Linked DNA regions of Homo sapiens: region 1 is linked to region 2. Evidence: promoter capture Hi-C in 16 types of primary human blood cells and fetal thymus (Javierre and others, 2016). All regions are on one chromosome and are shown on one strand. The core of a region is centred on a gene start or on the middle of the fragment in contact, and the rest is flanking DNA. Distances in the headings are between cores, read along the strand shown. Region 1 holds the start of CABP7 (calcium binding protein 7). Region 2 holds the start of HORMAD2 (HORMA domain containing 2).

Region 1 (6,696 bases), core at 1,699-4,198, 360 kb after region 2:
CTGGGAAGCCCTCATCTTAACTCTGTGCTTCCCACCTCCCTGCCTGGTCCTCCTTTCCGCTCAGACTGACCGCCCCCTGGATTTCTGCGGCAGGCACGTACTGTCTGCAGCATTCCATCCCGGGCTGCCCAGCTCCCTCTTCCTGGCACATGTGGCTCCTCCGCGAATGGCGTCCTCCCGGCAGAGGGCCTGGGTCTCGCCCAGACCGCCCTGGGGCAGGAGCACTCATGAGGCCCTGCAGAGGCGGAGAGGGCAGAGGGGGATCCGTGCCAGGAATGGCCAGCCCTGGCATTCAAGGACTGCTGAAAGGGACCTGGGGCCGCCAGAGGGCTTTTAGGGCACCTGCAGCCAAGAAGGGGGCTGGTCATGGAAAACTTCTTGCCTTCATCTGTAGCTGCCCACTGGGCCAGAGATGAGCTGGGACCACCCAGGCATCTGTCTACTCCATGACCCCACCTGCCCATCCCAGGGAGGGCCCTGCCCTTCAGATGCCCCCTGAGTCAGGGCCCCTCAGCTCCCCAGGGCCCAGGAGAAGGGGACAGGAGAGAAGCGGGGAGGGCACTTGTTGTGGCTGGTGACTAACGCAGCTGGGCTCCTGCCAGCACGCCATGTCGTTGGTTGGGGAGCCTGCGGCCTTGCCCCTGCACTGCCCACCCTGCGGCCCCTCGCCCCTGCAGCCAGCCTCTCAGCCTCTCCCCTTCCTCAGGGAGTGCACTCCAGGACTGGGGATCAGGAGAGGAGGGACCCAGAAAGGGCTGGAGTTGGGGTGGTGGGGTCCTGGTGGGGGTGCTGGGAGCAAGGGGAGGGAGTGAAGCGGAAGCTGCCTGGGGTCTGGGAGACATGGTGACTCCTGCTTGGATGGTCAGGAGGAGGGGATGGATGAGGGCCTCTGGAGGGAAAAATCTGCAGGAGGTTTGAGGTGGCCCAGGGCCGGAGGGGACAAAGGTGGGGAGGAGAAGGCCTATGCTCCATCTCCTGACCTTTCGCCCCCCACCATCGTACCCCTCCTTTCCCCGGGCTCTGGAGGAGGCTCTGGCCCTGGGTTTTAGGGGTGAATGGTGAGGTCATGTCGGGGGGCCCCAATCATCCATCTGTCCTGTCCGCATCAGACCCCAGACCCTGTCTCCACAGCTCTCCCCGCTTCTGAGGGTTTGCAGGGGCAGTTGGTGAGGAGCCTGGTGGCTCATGCCTATGGTGCAGTGAGCGAGGCAGAGGCTGCCTTCTCTCTCTGGATCTTCCCCCGACCCATTCTGACTCCTCTAAGATCTGCCCTCACCCTGGGCCTGGGTTGAGGGAGGACCTCCCTCCATGGCTTCCCCTGGGCTCCCACCATCCTCCCTGACTGTGCTGGTCTTGGCTGCACCCTCCCAGGCCCTAATGAGCCTCCAGATCTCAGAGACCCCTGGATCCAAGGTACCCCGAGAGGCCCATCCTCTGGGTGAGCTCAGCCCCTTGCAACAGCAGACATGCAGATCCCAGGAGGCCGTGACCCCCATCAGCCCAGATCCCCCACTCCACTCCATATGGGGGCTCCAGGAGGTCTGGGGGGAGGGGAAACCTCAGCACCTCCCCCAGCCCAGCAGGGAAGGAGCTGGGCGGGCCCCAGGGGTCTCACTGCTCCTCAGGACACACTGTCCCGGACCCCTGCCCCTGCCCTCTGCTCTGACCTCGCCCAGCCAGCGGCCTGCCATCCCCCTGCGAGTCTGAGAGGCAGGGGGAACGGGGTGGGGGCGGGTTTGGGTCCTGGCCTCTCTGCCTTTCCCTTCCAGGCTTGGCTATCGCGACTTAGCCGCCCAGTCCGGCCACTTGTTGTCGCCACCGCCTCCCGGGCCGCCTTCCCGGCGCGCCGGGCTGGGGGTCCCCGCAGGGCTGCAGGGAAGGGGCTACGGCCGCAGGTGGGGACGGGGGCGGCCCCGCAGCGGGCAAGAGCAGGGCAGTCGCCCTCTCCCCTTCTGCTGCTGCCCGAGCAGATTGAATTTTTAAAGCGACACGAGCGGAATGTCAATGCGAGCAGAGAGCCGCGGGCGGGCGCCGCGGAGGGGATCAGGATGCGGGTGCTCCGGCCGGGCCGGCGCTGGGGGCTCAGCGCGGACCCCCGCCCCAGTCCGCCGCGTTGCCGCACCGTCACCGCCGACTGCGCGGCCCCGTGACCCCGCTGCGGGGCCCGGCAAGTTTCCGCAGCGCTGGGGACCACGCGGGCAGGGGCTGGGCCGCTCTCCGCCTGAGCGACCCCCACCGCGGCGCCCCGGGGTGCGGACAGGTCTTGCCGCGGGGCACAGCTGCTAGCTGGGGCGCCCACCTGGCAACCGGCACCTGCGGACCGCCCCCCGCCCCCCGCCCCCGCGCCCCTGGCCCGCGCTTCACCTGGGCGCACAGGTAGGAGGGCCGCCGGGGCGGGGATCCCGGCGGACACTCACCCTCCAGCTCGTCCTCCGGGATGTCCACCGGGCGCTGCTCCGACAGCAGGTTGGGCACGGTGTAGATGCCCCGGTACATCAACGCCGCCGTCACCGGGTGGAACGGCATCTTGGAGGCTCCGCGCCCGCCCGCCCGCCGCAAACTTTGAGGCCGGGGCTCATGGGCCGGTGGCGGCCCCGGGGGCGGCTGGAGCGGGCGGGGCGCGCGGCTGCGGAGGGCGGCGGCGGCAGCGGCGAGGCTGGGGACGCCCCTCCGGGGGCCTAGCGCCCCCGCGCCCCGGGCCGCCGGGCCATGCCGCCCGCTCCCTCGTCGGGCTCCCAGCCGGGGCCCCGCAGGGGCAGCGGGGGCGGCGCCGCTCTGGCCTTTCCGAGAGCTCCGGCTGCCTCGCGCGGTGCCCGCCGCGCCCGCTCCTCGGTGCCCCGCGCGCTCCGCGCTGCTCGCCGCCCGCTAGTCCGCTCGCCGGCGCGGCCGCTACCGGCCCGGCGCTCAGGCTGTAGCCGCCTCTCCGCTCGCTCGCTCGCTCGTTCTGTGCCGCGCTGGCTGCGCTCCCCGCCTCCCCCGCCAGCCGCCCGCCCGCCCCCTCCGCGCTCCCCACCCCCAGCCCGCCCCTTCCCGCCGCCGGCCCCTGAGCGGCCGCCCCAAACCTGCCCGGGGCTCCTTCTCCCCTTCGGCCCCGATTCCCCTTTCCCACTAGGGCTCCCCTCTGTTCACTGGCTCTCCTCACCCTAAGTCTGCAGCCACCAGGACCAGGGAGGGGGTGGGTTGCGGGGGTCCTCCTTCCTGCCCCTTGGCTCACCTTCCCCCATCCACGCACCAGGAGCGGAGAGCCCGGAACTAAGAACTGTAGACCCAGAGAGGTGAGACTGGCCCCAAGCACCTGGGTCCTCAAGAAGAGTCACCGTTTCCGTGCCAGGAGGATCCAAGGTGGGGAAACTGAGGCTGAGAGAGAAGGACGTTGACCAAGGTCACAGGGCAGGAGCAGCAGGTAAGAGCTGGGTACACGTCTGGGGTAGGCTTCCTGCCCTGCCTGTGACTGACACCCTGCCGCTGACCTTGCTCCCCACAATGGGGCCCCAGTCCCGGACCCTTCCCAAGCCCCTACCTTTCAGCTTGCAGAAGAGGAGCCAAAGTGTCTCATGGCCCCCAGGGCAGTTCGGGACAGAGACATGGCCCGGTGCCTGTGGGGTCTGGTGTGAGGGCCTGCCAGTTCACATGGCTGCAGCTCAGACCTAATGTATGTGCAGGGCTTCCCCAGGCCCCAGGGCACGTCGGCACCCCAGAGCTGGGGTGGGGGCAGGTGTTTGAGGGAGCAGCCTGCGTGTGCATATGTCTGCTATCCATGAGGGTGTGTATGTGCCACTGGGCACGTGCGCAGGTGTCTGTGACTCCATATGCAGATGGACAAATGTCGGGAGTGTGTGGCCACCTGTGTGTGCCAAGGTTGTACGCTGGCAGGTCGGGGGAGGTGTGCAGGCCCTGGGGCTGGGAGTGGTGTGGGCATATGGTGCACAGATGTGCATGGGAGGGGGTGACCTTCTGGCCTGGCTGTGGCCCCATCTCTGGGTGCTTCCCTGAATCCCCCTACTGGGACCACCTCCCTGCCCCCTTTGGCCCAATCAGCTAAAGGTCCCAGCAGGAACGCTGATTGCACAGCCCTGCCCGGTCCTGCCCTGCCCTTCCCAAGCTGATTACACTTTTCTGCTTGTTTCTGTTTTTGTTACTGATTAATCGCAGCCTTGTCTCAGGGTCTGGGGAGAAGGGGCTCAGTGAGAGATGCTAGCCCCAGCCAAGCGGGGTTGGGTCAGCCTGGGCCCAGCACTTCCTGGGCCCTGCTCTGGAGGGAGCTCCTAGAAACATCTATAACCTGCGGAGGAGCCAGGAAGGACACCAGCTGTCTGTCTGTCTCCCCAGACCTCTCCGGGCTAGCTGGTTGCCCACTGGGACCTGGGCCTGGAGGTGAGAGAGGCCCCAGAAAAGCTCCCACCCCACTCCAAAGCTCTCCTTGCCCACCTGTCCCATCTTCTGACCTTCCACCGCTAGAGCTGAATGCCTTGAGCTTCCCCAGTGTTTTTGATGGAGCAGAGACTTGAGGAAGTAAGAACCCAGCACCAAGAGCCAGGCAGACTGGGGCTTCTGCATCCACCATCTCCTCACCATGGAACTACAGTCAGGTCCCTTAACCGGCCATAGCCTCAGTTTCCCTGCCTGTTAAGGTGGCAGTGCCACATCCCAGGCAGCGGTGAGGATGAAGTGACATAATGTAGGAAAGGTGCCGGGCATCACCTCCCTGAAACTCTTGGGAGTTTCCTATTAGCATGAACATCCCCCCCAAGGAATAGGAATTAATAATAATTATAGCTTCGAGTATTGATTGAGAGAGCGAGCCGCAGCAGCAGCTCAGTCGTTCCACGTTTACTAAGTGTCCAGGCTGTGCCAGCCCAGGCCTGTCAGTTCTAAATCAGAACCCCTGGGCCAAGGGAGAGTGGGCTAGAGCCTGCTGAGAGGCTGGCAGGAAACCCAGCTCCCAGTGACTCCCTGGGAGGCCGCTGCAGAGCGTGTTGGTACTCGCCCTGTGAAGGGGAAGCTCCTGGGCTTGCTGTCCAGGTGGGTATTTTTTTTTATTTTTTTAGGTGGAGTCTTTCTCTGTTGCCCAGGCTGGATTGCAGTGGCATGATCTCGGCTCACTGCAACCTCCGCCTCCCAGGTTCAAGTTATTCTCATGCCTCAGCCTCCCGAATAGCTGGGACTACAGGCACATGCCATCACACCCAGCTAATTTTTGTATTTTTCGTAGAGAACATGTTGGCCAGGCTGGTCACAAACTCCTGACCTCAAGTGATCTACCCGCCTTGGCCTACTAAAGTGCTGGGATTACAGGCGTGAGGCACCACTCCCAACCCATGGTGGCTTTTTTTTTTTCAAGTCAAGGGAATTCCAGGGGTCAAGAGGAGGGTGGGCAAAAGCTCAGAAGTGTGAGAGGGCCTCTCTTAGCTCTGAAGGGCAGGTCTGGGTCTGGGTTCTCCAGATCTCCTACGCTTGGCACAGGACTGGAATGGGCTAAGGTGGCTGGGGCTGGATGAACATCTGTCAAATGAATGAACGAGAGAATTAGTGAATGAACGACTGCCCGCTCACCACCGCCCCCCGCCCTTCGGCATTGCAGCCCCGTCCTCTCCTCTGTGCGTCACGGGGGAGCAGATGGCATGATCACAGGGTGTGAATTATGTCTGTCGCTCCCCCATCTGGGGAAGGTGCTGCTGCCATCACACTGCACTCTCTGGGGTGCCCACCGGGAGATGCCTGAGCCTCAGGTCCTCCCAAGAGGGGTTCTCCACAGGCCTTGCTAACTAATCATTGGGTCAGGAGGCTAGAGACACTGGGAGAGGTGACACGCTGAAACCTGTGATTCCAGGGGGGTTCCCCAAGTGGGAAGGAGACAAGGGGAGAGAGGTGGGAACTGCCATGTTCAGAGGCCAGACTCTTCCCTCCCTGAGACTGGAGCCCACTCCTTTCAAGAGCAGCACAGTCCCTGCCCTCCCTGGCCAGAGACCTCTTGTCCGAGGCCAGCATCCTCTTGCCACATTCAGCACCAGGGAGAGCTCCCAGCAGAGCTCAGGGCCCAGCTGTGTAGAGTGAAGCTGTGGAGGGACCCACAAGAGCCGGCCAAGGCTATCAATGAACCCATTGTCCAAACGAGGAAATCAAAGTGAAGAGGGTGTAAGCTTCAAGTTCAAGATCATGCTGGGACCAATAATTGCAGCCCTACCCAAGCCAGGGCTCCTGCTGGGGGAGAAGGTACTGGAGGAGGGGAGGTAGTGGTGGTAGGGAGGGGATGTCCAGGGAGGGCAGAGGCTATGGCCTCTGCTCCTAGGCTGAGGAACAATATTGTTCCAAGAACGCACTGGGGACAGTGTCTGGAGGTGAATAAAATATTCATTGTCCGGGCAAACTCCCGAAGTCAACTAATGAATAATGGAATTTATAGACTCAAAGATGCACACCGGGCTGAGAGGGGGTGCAGGCCAGAACCCAGAGGCCCCAACTGCTCAGATCCCTGCTCTTCTCTGGCTACCCCCCTCTGAACGCCCACATGCCCAGCTCTTGAAGGTGACAGGAGCGGAAAGGACAACAGGGAACAGAGTCCATGTGAGGGAAACAGAGTGAAGGGGACAGGCCCTTGAATTTGTTGCTATTGGGGGAAGGAACTTGGTGATGGGAAAAGAGCACTGGACTCGGAGTCCAGTGCAGCTGGGATGAAGTCTGACCCCTGCTACCAGC
Region 2 (6,781 bases), core at 4,046-6,545:
TTTATTGAAAAGGACTCTCACTGTGTCACCCAGGTGAAGTGCAGTGGTATAATATCAGCTTACTGCAACCTCTGTTTCCAGGGTTCAAGCCATTCTCCTGCCTCAGCGTCCTGAGTAGCTGGGATTACAGGTGTGTGCCACCACATCCAGCTAATTTTTGTATTTTTAGTAGAGATGGGGTTTAGCCATGTTGGCCAGGCTGGTCTAGAACCCCTGACCTCAAGTGATCTGCCCACTTTGGCCTCCCAAAGTGCTGGGATTACAGGCATGAGCCACTGCACCCAGCCTTTAAAGTTTTTTTAATAGGTATAATTCAGTGGGTTTTAGTATATTCACAAAATTCTGCAACCATCTGTTTAATATAGTATAAACCATCAATTTAGTGTATTCACAAAATAATGCAAACACTATCAATTCCAGAACATTTTCATCACCCCTAAAAGAAATCCCATGCCTATTAGCAGTCACTCCTATTCTCTCCTTTCCCCAGCCGCTGGAAACCACTAACCTACCTTTCATCTTTATGAAATTGCCTATTCTGAACATTACATATAAATGAAACCATACAATATGTGATCTTTTGTGTCTTGTTTAGCTCATTTTTTTTTTTTTTGAGACGGAGTCTGGCTCTGTTGCCCAGGCTGGAGTGCAGTGGCGCAATCTCGGCTCACTGCAAGACCCACCTCCCGGGTTCATGCCACCCTCCTGCCTCAGCCTCCCGAGTAGCTGGGACTACAGGCGACTGCCACCATGCTTGGCTAATTTTTTCGTATTTTTAGTAGAGACGGGGTTTCACCATGTTAGCGACGATGGTCTCGAACTCCTGACCTCATGATCCGCCCGCCTCGGCCTCCCAAATTGCTGGGATTACAGGCGTGAGCCACCACGCCTGGCCGTTTAGCTCATTCTTGAACTCTCAGCATCATCACAGTACTGGAACTAAATAGGTACTCAATAAATATTTGCTGAGGCTGGGCATGGTGGCTCACACCTGTAATCTCAGTATTTTGGGAGGTCACGGTGGGATGGATCACTTGAGGTCAGCAGTTCAAGACCAGCCTGGCCAACATGGTGAAGCCCTGTCTCTACTTTAAAAATAAATAAATAAGTAAAAAATAAAAAAAATTAAAAACCTAACTTAACTAACTAAATATTTGCTGAGTCAACAGAGAAGAACTATAGGAACAAGGAATAATTAAGAGTCTAGAAAAATACCACAAAATTTTAAAGGTAGAAGAAACTTTAAATATCATTGCTATGGTTTGAATGTGTATCCCAAAGTTCATATTTTGGAAGCTTAATCCTCAATGCAAGTGTTGAGAGTTGGGGCCTTTAAGAGGTGATTAGGTGCCTTCATGAATGGATTAATATTGTTACCCCAGGAGCAGGTTCATTATCAGGAGAGTGGATTTGTTATAAAAGCAAGTTTGGCACACTCACTCTCTCTCTCCTTGCTCTCTCTGTCTTACCAGGTGATGCCTTCCTCCATGTTATGACACAGCAAGAAGGTCCTTACAAGATGCATATCCTTGTTCTTGGACTTCCCAGCCTCCAGAATCATAAGCCAATACATGTCTGCTCTTTTTAGTTACCCAGCCTCAGGTATTGTTACAGCAGTACAAACTGGACTAAGACAGTAATTTAGTCCAAATATCTAATTTTCTAGATGGGGAATTCAAAATCTAGACTTACCCGGGATTAGTCAGCCACTCAGTAACAGAACTGAGACTAAAACTCAACAAGTCTGGCTCACAATTTAAAAGTTTTTCCAGACTGACTCTCCAAAATGAAATTCTCCTTTGCTTTCATTCTATCTAATATGATGTACTACCAGGGCCTCCTTAGTTCTTCGGCTTGCCTACTTATTTCTAAACATGGGAGGGTCTCTTTCTAGTGTTCTAGCATGAGCTTGCTTCAGGAAGGCAAAAAGATCTAAATTATTTTTTCAAAAAACATGGTGAAACTTCGTCTCTACTAAAACTGGGCATGGTGGTGGGTGCCTGTAATCCCAGCTACTTGAGAGGCTGAGGCAGGAGAATTGCTTGAACCCGGGAGGTGGAGGTTGCAGTGAGCCGAGATTGCACCATTGCACTCCAGCCTGGGCAACAAGAGTGAAACTCCGTCTCAAAAAAAAAGCCAGACTCCTTTCAGCCTCTAATTATTCTGTTGCTACTGTTTTCCCTTTGAGCAGGTGTTTTGTGGAGGTCTTCTATTTAAGTACAAACCCTGCTTAATTTTAAAAGCTCACAAGTTCACAGGAGGTATGACTCTAGAGAGCATGCATTCTCAGAGAATAGGTCTGATTTTTTCTATGTGTTATCCCTTTGTTCAGGCTCATTATCTAAAAACCTAGAAGAGATTTCATAACTATGGATTTTAAGAACTGAAAGCTAACTTTGCAATGTCATTCTCTTATATATTTGTTTGCAAATTAGATCCACACATATTTGAAACTTCACAGTTCATCAATACCATTCCCTCTTCTGTTTTTGAGACAAGGTCTTACTCTGTTTACCCAGGCAGGAATGCAGTGGCGCAATCTTGGCTCACTGCAACCTCGACCTCCTGGGCTCAAGTGATCCTCCCACCTCAGCCTCCTAAGTAGCTAGTACTAGAGGCCATGTGCCACCACACTCAGCAAATTTTATTTTTGGTAGAGATGAGGTCTCACTATGTTACCCAGGCTGGTTTTGAACTTCTGGGCTCAAGCAATACTCCTTTCTTAGCCTCCCAAAGTGCTGGGATTATAAGTGTGAGCCACTGCAACTGACCCTCACTCTTACATTTGATATGTCTACTTTGTGACAAGGATTATGATCTTCTTGAGAAAGAGGCAATATTTCTATGCTCTTTCTGGTAAAGATTCACTCTAGGCTTACCTCTTGACCTATATCTCAATTGCCCTATTTTTTTTGTTGTTGTGTATTCATTTTCTTTTCTTTTCTTTTCTTTTTTTTTTTTTTGAGACAGAGTAAAGTGCGGTGGCATGATCTGTCACCTAGGCTGGCATAATCACAGCTCATTGCAACCTCAAACTTCTGGGCTCAAGTGATCCTCCTATCTCAGCCTTCCAAGTAGCTGAGACTATATGCATGCACCACCATGCCCTGCTAATTTTTAAAAATTTTTTATTTTTGTAGAGTTGGGCGGGCGGGTGGAGGGGGAGGTCTCACTATGTTGCCCAGACTGGCCTCGAACTCTTGGCCTCTCAAAGTTTTGGGATTACACATATGAGACACCACACCACGCCTTCAATTGCCCTATTTTATATGGTGGCACAATTACTTCCTATTTTACCCCTACTATGTGTGAGTCCAAGATTCACATAAAGATTAGCCAGCTGCTGTTTAGTTTACTAAGGCCTAAACCACTTTTTTAACCATTCCAAGTGAAGCAAAAGCCAAAGTTTTATTACATTTTCCCAAATATAATCATAGTTGATTTATGAAGGCTCTCTACCCATCTTTCTCAATCTTCAAAAACCGTTTTTTACAAGAAAATCCCTTTTCTATCAGGTGAACACTATCCAATAGCTGGATTCTGAAATGTAACTATATTACCTTCCTTACACATGCATGTTGTTAAGAATGGCTTTACTCAAAAGAAGTGTACGTTAACATAAATGGGTTCAATAGATTCCTAAAGCTGGAAGGGAGCACAGACATCTTCCAACCCCTTTGATTTAAAGAAGATCCAATTCTGTGGAGGAAGAATCTTTTTTTCAGCAAATGATGCTGAAACAAAAGGACATCTGGAGGGTGGGGGGAAGAACAGAGAATTAAAAGAAACTTAACCTAAATCTCACACTGTATACAAATATTAATGCAAAATGGATCATGGATTTAAACCTAAACATAAAACTATAAAGAAAAGGGGCCAGGTGCAGTGGCTCACACCTGTAATCCCAGCACTCTGGGAGGCCGAGGTGGGAGGATCACGAGGTCAAGAGATCGAGACTATCCTGGCCAACATGGTGAAACCCTGTCTCTACTAAAAATAAAAAAAAATAAAAAAATTTAGCTGGGCGTGGTGGTGCACACCTGTAGTCCCAGCTACATGGGAGGCTGAGGCAGGGGAATCGCTTGAACCCGAGAGGTGGAGGTTGCAGTGAGCTGAGATTGCGTCACTGCACTCCAGCCTGGCACAGAGCTCGACTCCATCTCACAAAAAAAAAAGAAAAAAGAAAAGGAAAGTGAGGCTAAGCAAGGGAACTTGGTTTGCCAAAGTTCGCCCAATTACTTAGACCTTCCAACAGAGCTTGCTTCAATAAATTATTCACCATTTTAACAAATTCCATTTGGCCCTGGTAATTCCCCTACCTGTGCTCATTCAGAGAAAATGGCTTCCACTATATTAATTGAGTATTTGTTCATGCTCTTTTGACTTTTTAATATCTTTTTCATGCTATTTCAATTATTCATTCATTCAACATCTACGAGGCAACTACAATGTGCCAGGCAACAACATGCAGGATTACGAGATGTAAAATACTGTTCCTACCTCAACAGATTGATGGTCCAATGGAGGAGAAATTAGATTATGATCCTGCTGAGATTAAAAACCCCTTTAGGGGCCAGAACCACCCCTCATTTCTACCAGCTGAGTACACGATGTACTGCACAGCCTGTCCAGTGCCCTGCGTACTCGGACACATTTTGGCGATTGGCTAATCCTGAGGTTCAAGACTCTCTCCCTCTGTTTAGGGAACTAAAGTCCATAGGGATTAATTGGCAAATCCTCACTAAAGTGAAAGGGGAGCTGAGGTCAAGGGGGGCGGGGTGTCTTGTCCCCACCTCTCTCACCTCTTGGCCTGTACCAGGCATCGATCCTGGCAGAAAACCTCAATGGCTGGGGAGAATCTGACCCAGGTAAGATAAACTTCCCCAAAGCTCCACCACACACGGCCCCCTCCAATGTCGGGCACAGACATCGTCTGCCCTGCCAGCCTCATCATGGCTCATTATGGCTGCTGCTTGCTCAGCAAGTTTGATTTCATGTCCAGAAAAATCTGAATTTCAAAACTACCTGGGTGCTCTCTGTCCAGTTCTGGGGGAAATCGCCTCCCTTTTGCCTTCCTCCTCAGCCCCCTGCCCTCCCGATTCTCTTCACAGTACTTTAGGCCCTCACGAAATATGATACTTTCAAATCCAACTTAAAGCCTTAAGTAATAAGAAAAGAAAAAAAAATTGTTTTTTGACATAAAGACAGAACTAACAACGCCCGAGTGCCCTCTCTGGGCCGAGACCTCGCGTCTCAACAGCCCTCACCTCAGCTCGTCGACGCTTCCCTCCCACCGGGGGTCAACGGCCTTTTCCGGCCCAAACCCGCTCCTCGGCTCATGAATAGTCAACGAGGCCTTTCTGGGCGGGACCAGAGGTTTCCTCATGAATAATTCATGACCCGTCCACGGCTAGCCTGGGCGACCGGCCTCGCTAGACTTCATGAATATGCAAAGCAGGGGCGAACGGCGGCTAGCCGGCCCCTAGCCCGCCCGGCCCCTCAGCAGCCGCCTCTCAGCCACGGGCTGCACACTGACCCGACGCGACCTTCGGTCAGGGGCCGCCAGCCTGGGCCACCTATACAACGACAGCCTGCTCCGGGGCTTCCTGAGGAGGTGCCTGCCCCGCCGAGGTTAGGACCCGAGGGACCGTGGGGCTCGGGCGGGCCAGGACGCCAGGCCGGCGGGTCCCAGAGAGGTCTGAGGCGGGCGCGGGGCGGCGTAGGGGAGGGAAGCGAGAGCCTGGGGGGCCCAGGGACCCGAGTTAGAAGAAGGCCCGAGAAGTGCGGCGCGGTGGCTCCACCTGGGATCCCAGCACTCTGGGAGGCTGAGGCGGGCGCGTCACTTGAGGTCAGGAATTCGAGACCAGCCTGGCCAACATGTTGAAAACCCGTCTCTACAAAAAATACAAAAATTAGCTGGGCGTGGTGGCGCGCGCCTGTAGTCCCAGCTACTTGGGAAGCTGAGGCACGAGAATCGCTTGAGCCCAGGAGGCTGAGGTTGCAGTGAGCCGAGATTCCGCCATTGCACTCCAGCCTGGGCGACAGAGCGAGACTCCGTCTCAAAAAAATTTTAAAAAGTACAAAAATTAGCTGGGCCACCTGACGTGCGCCTGTAGTCCCAGCTGCTCGGGAGGCTGAGGTAGGAGGATCGCTTGAGCCGGGGAGTTTGAGGTTGCAGTGAGCCAAGATCGTACCATTGCACTCCAGCCTGGGCAACAGAGGGAGACCCTGTCTCAAAAATAAAAAAAAAGAAAAGAAAGAAAAAAGACATAAGGCCAGAAGGCCAGAGCTTTCCAATACTTGAGGGCATCTGCAACCTCTTCATCCCTACCCTGGACCTGACTTTGCATTCTTTTTAACATTAATTTGTAATTATGCAAATAAAACATAAATATATTCTCCTTTGTGCCCTACCCCTAATCTCAGTTTTTTCTGCCCTGGTAACTGTGGGAGCAGTTGGGGGTGTGGCTCCTTGGATCGTTTCTCACCTGTTTAGGTAGATATTTCGTATCCTGTGGTGCTTTCCAAAGGCTCCTGGAGTCCCATGAACCTCCCCAAGGGGATTTCCCAAGAGAGTAGATGAAAGAGTGAGCCACTTGAAACCTGTTCTTATTTTGTTTCTGCAGGAAAGAAAAAAAAAACTATTCAAGTTGGCGAGAACATGAGTTTAGAACATAATGACTAAAACTGAAATTTGGGCTGAAATATTCTTTTAGTGCAAGTTTTCTCAACCTTCTCCCCACCCCCACCATCATAACAACCAAAAATTTCTCTAGACTTT

Evidence for each region. The method cuts DNA at HindIII sites, captures the fragments that hold promoters and counts their contacts. A CHiCAGO score of 5 or more calls a contact.
Region 1: the fragment with the promoter of CABP7 here is called in contact with the fragment with the promoter of HORMAD2 in region 2 in 6 of 17 cell types (endothelial precursors, M0 macrophages, erythroblasts and 3 more); the score reaches 7.5 in endothelial precursors.

Annotation. Positions count from the first base shown.
Region 1 is chr22:29,716,255-29,722,950 of GRCh38, reverse strand. It overlaps CABP7 (calcium binding protein 7), which reads right to left and starts at 2,948. Exons shown (of 5, transcript NM_182527.3): 1 at 2,418-2,948. The coding sequence starts at 2,526. It overlaps CABP7-DT (CABP7 divergent transcript), which reads left to right and starts at 3,048. Exons shown (of 3, transcript NR_186695.1): 1 at 3,048-3,403. RefSeq lists an enhancer at 849-1,639 and a silencer at 5,924-6,124. The HindIII fragment of the contact is 23,163 bases long and covers 1-6,142 here.
Region 2 is chr22:30,078,978-30,085,758 of GRCh38, reverse strand. HORMAD2 (HORMA domain containing 2) reads right to left here and starts at 5,295. Exons shown (of 11, transcript NM_152510.4): 1 at 5,268-5,295. HORMAD2-AS1 (HORMAD2 and MTMR3 antisense RNA 1) reads left to right here and starts at 5,502. Exons shown (of 5, transcript NR_110541.2): 1 at 5,502-5,631. RefSeq lists enhancers at 5,225-5,304, 5,142-5,839 and a silencer at 5,645-5,694. The HindIII fragment of the contact is 6,725 bases long and covers 1,299-6,781 here.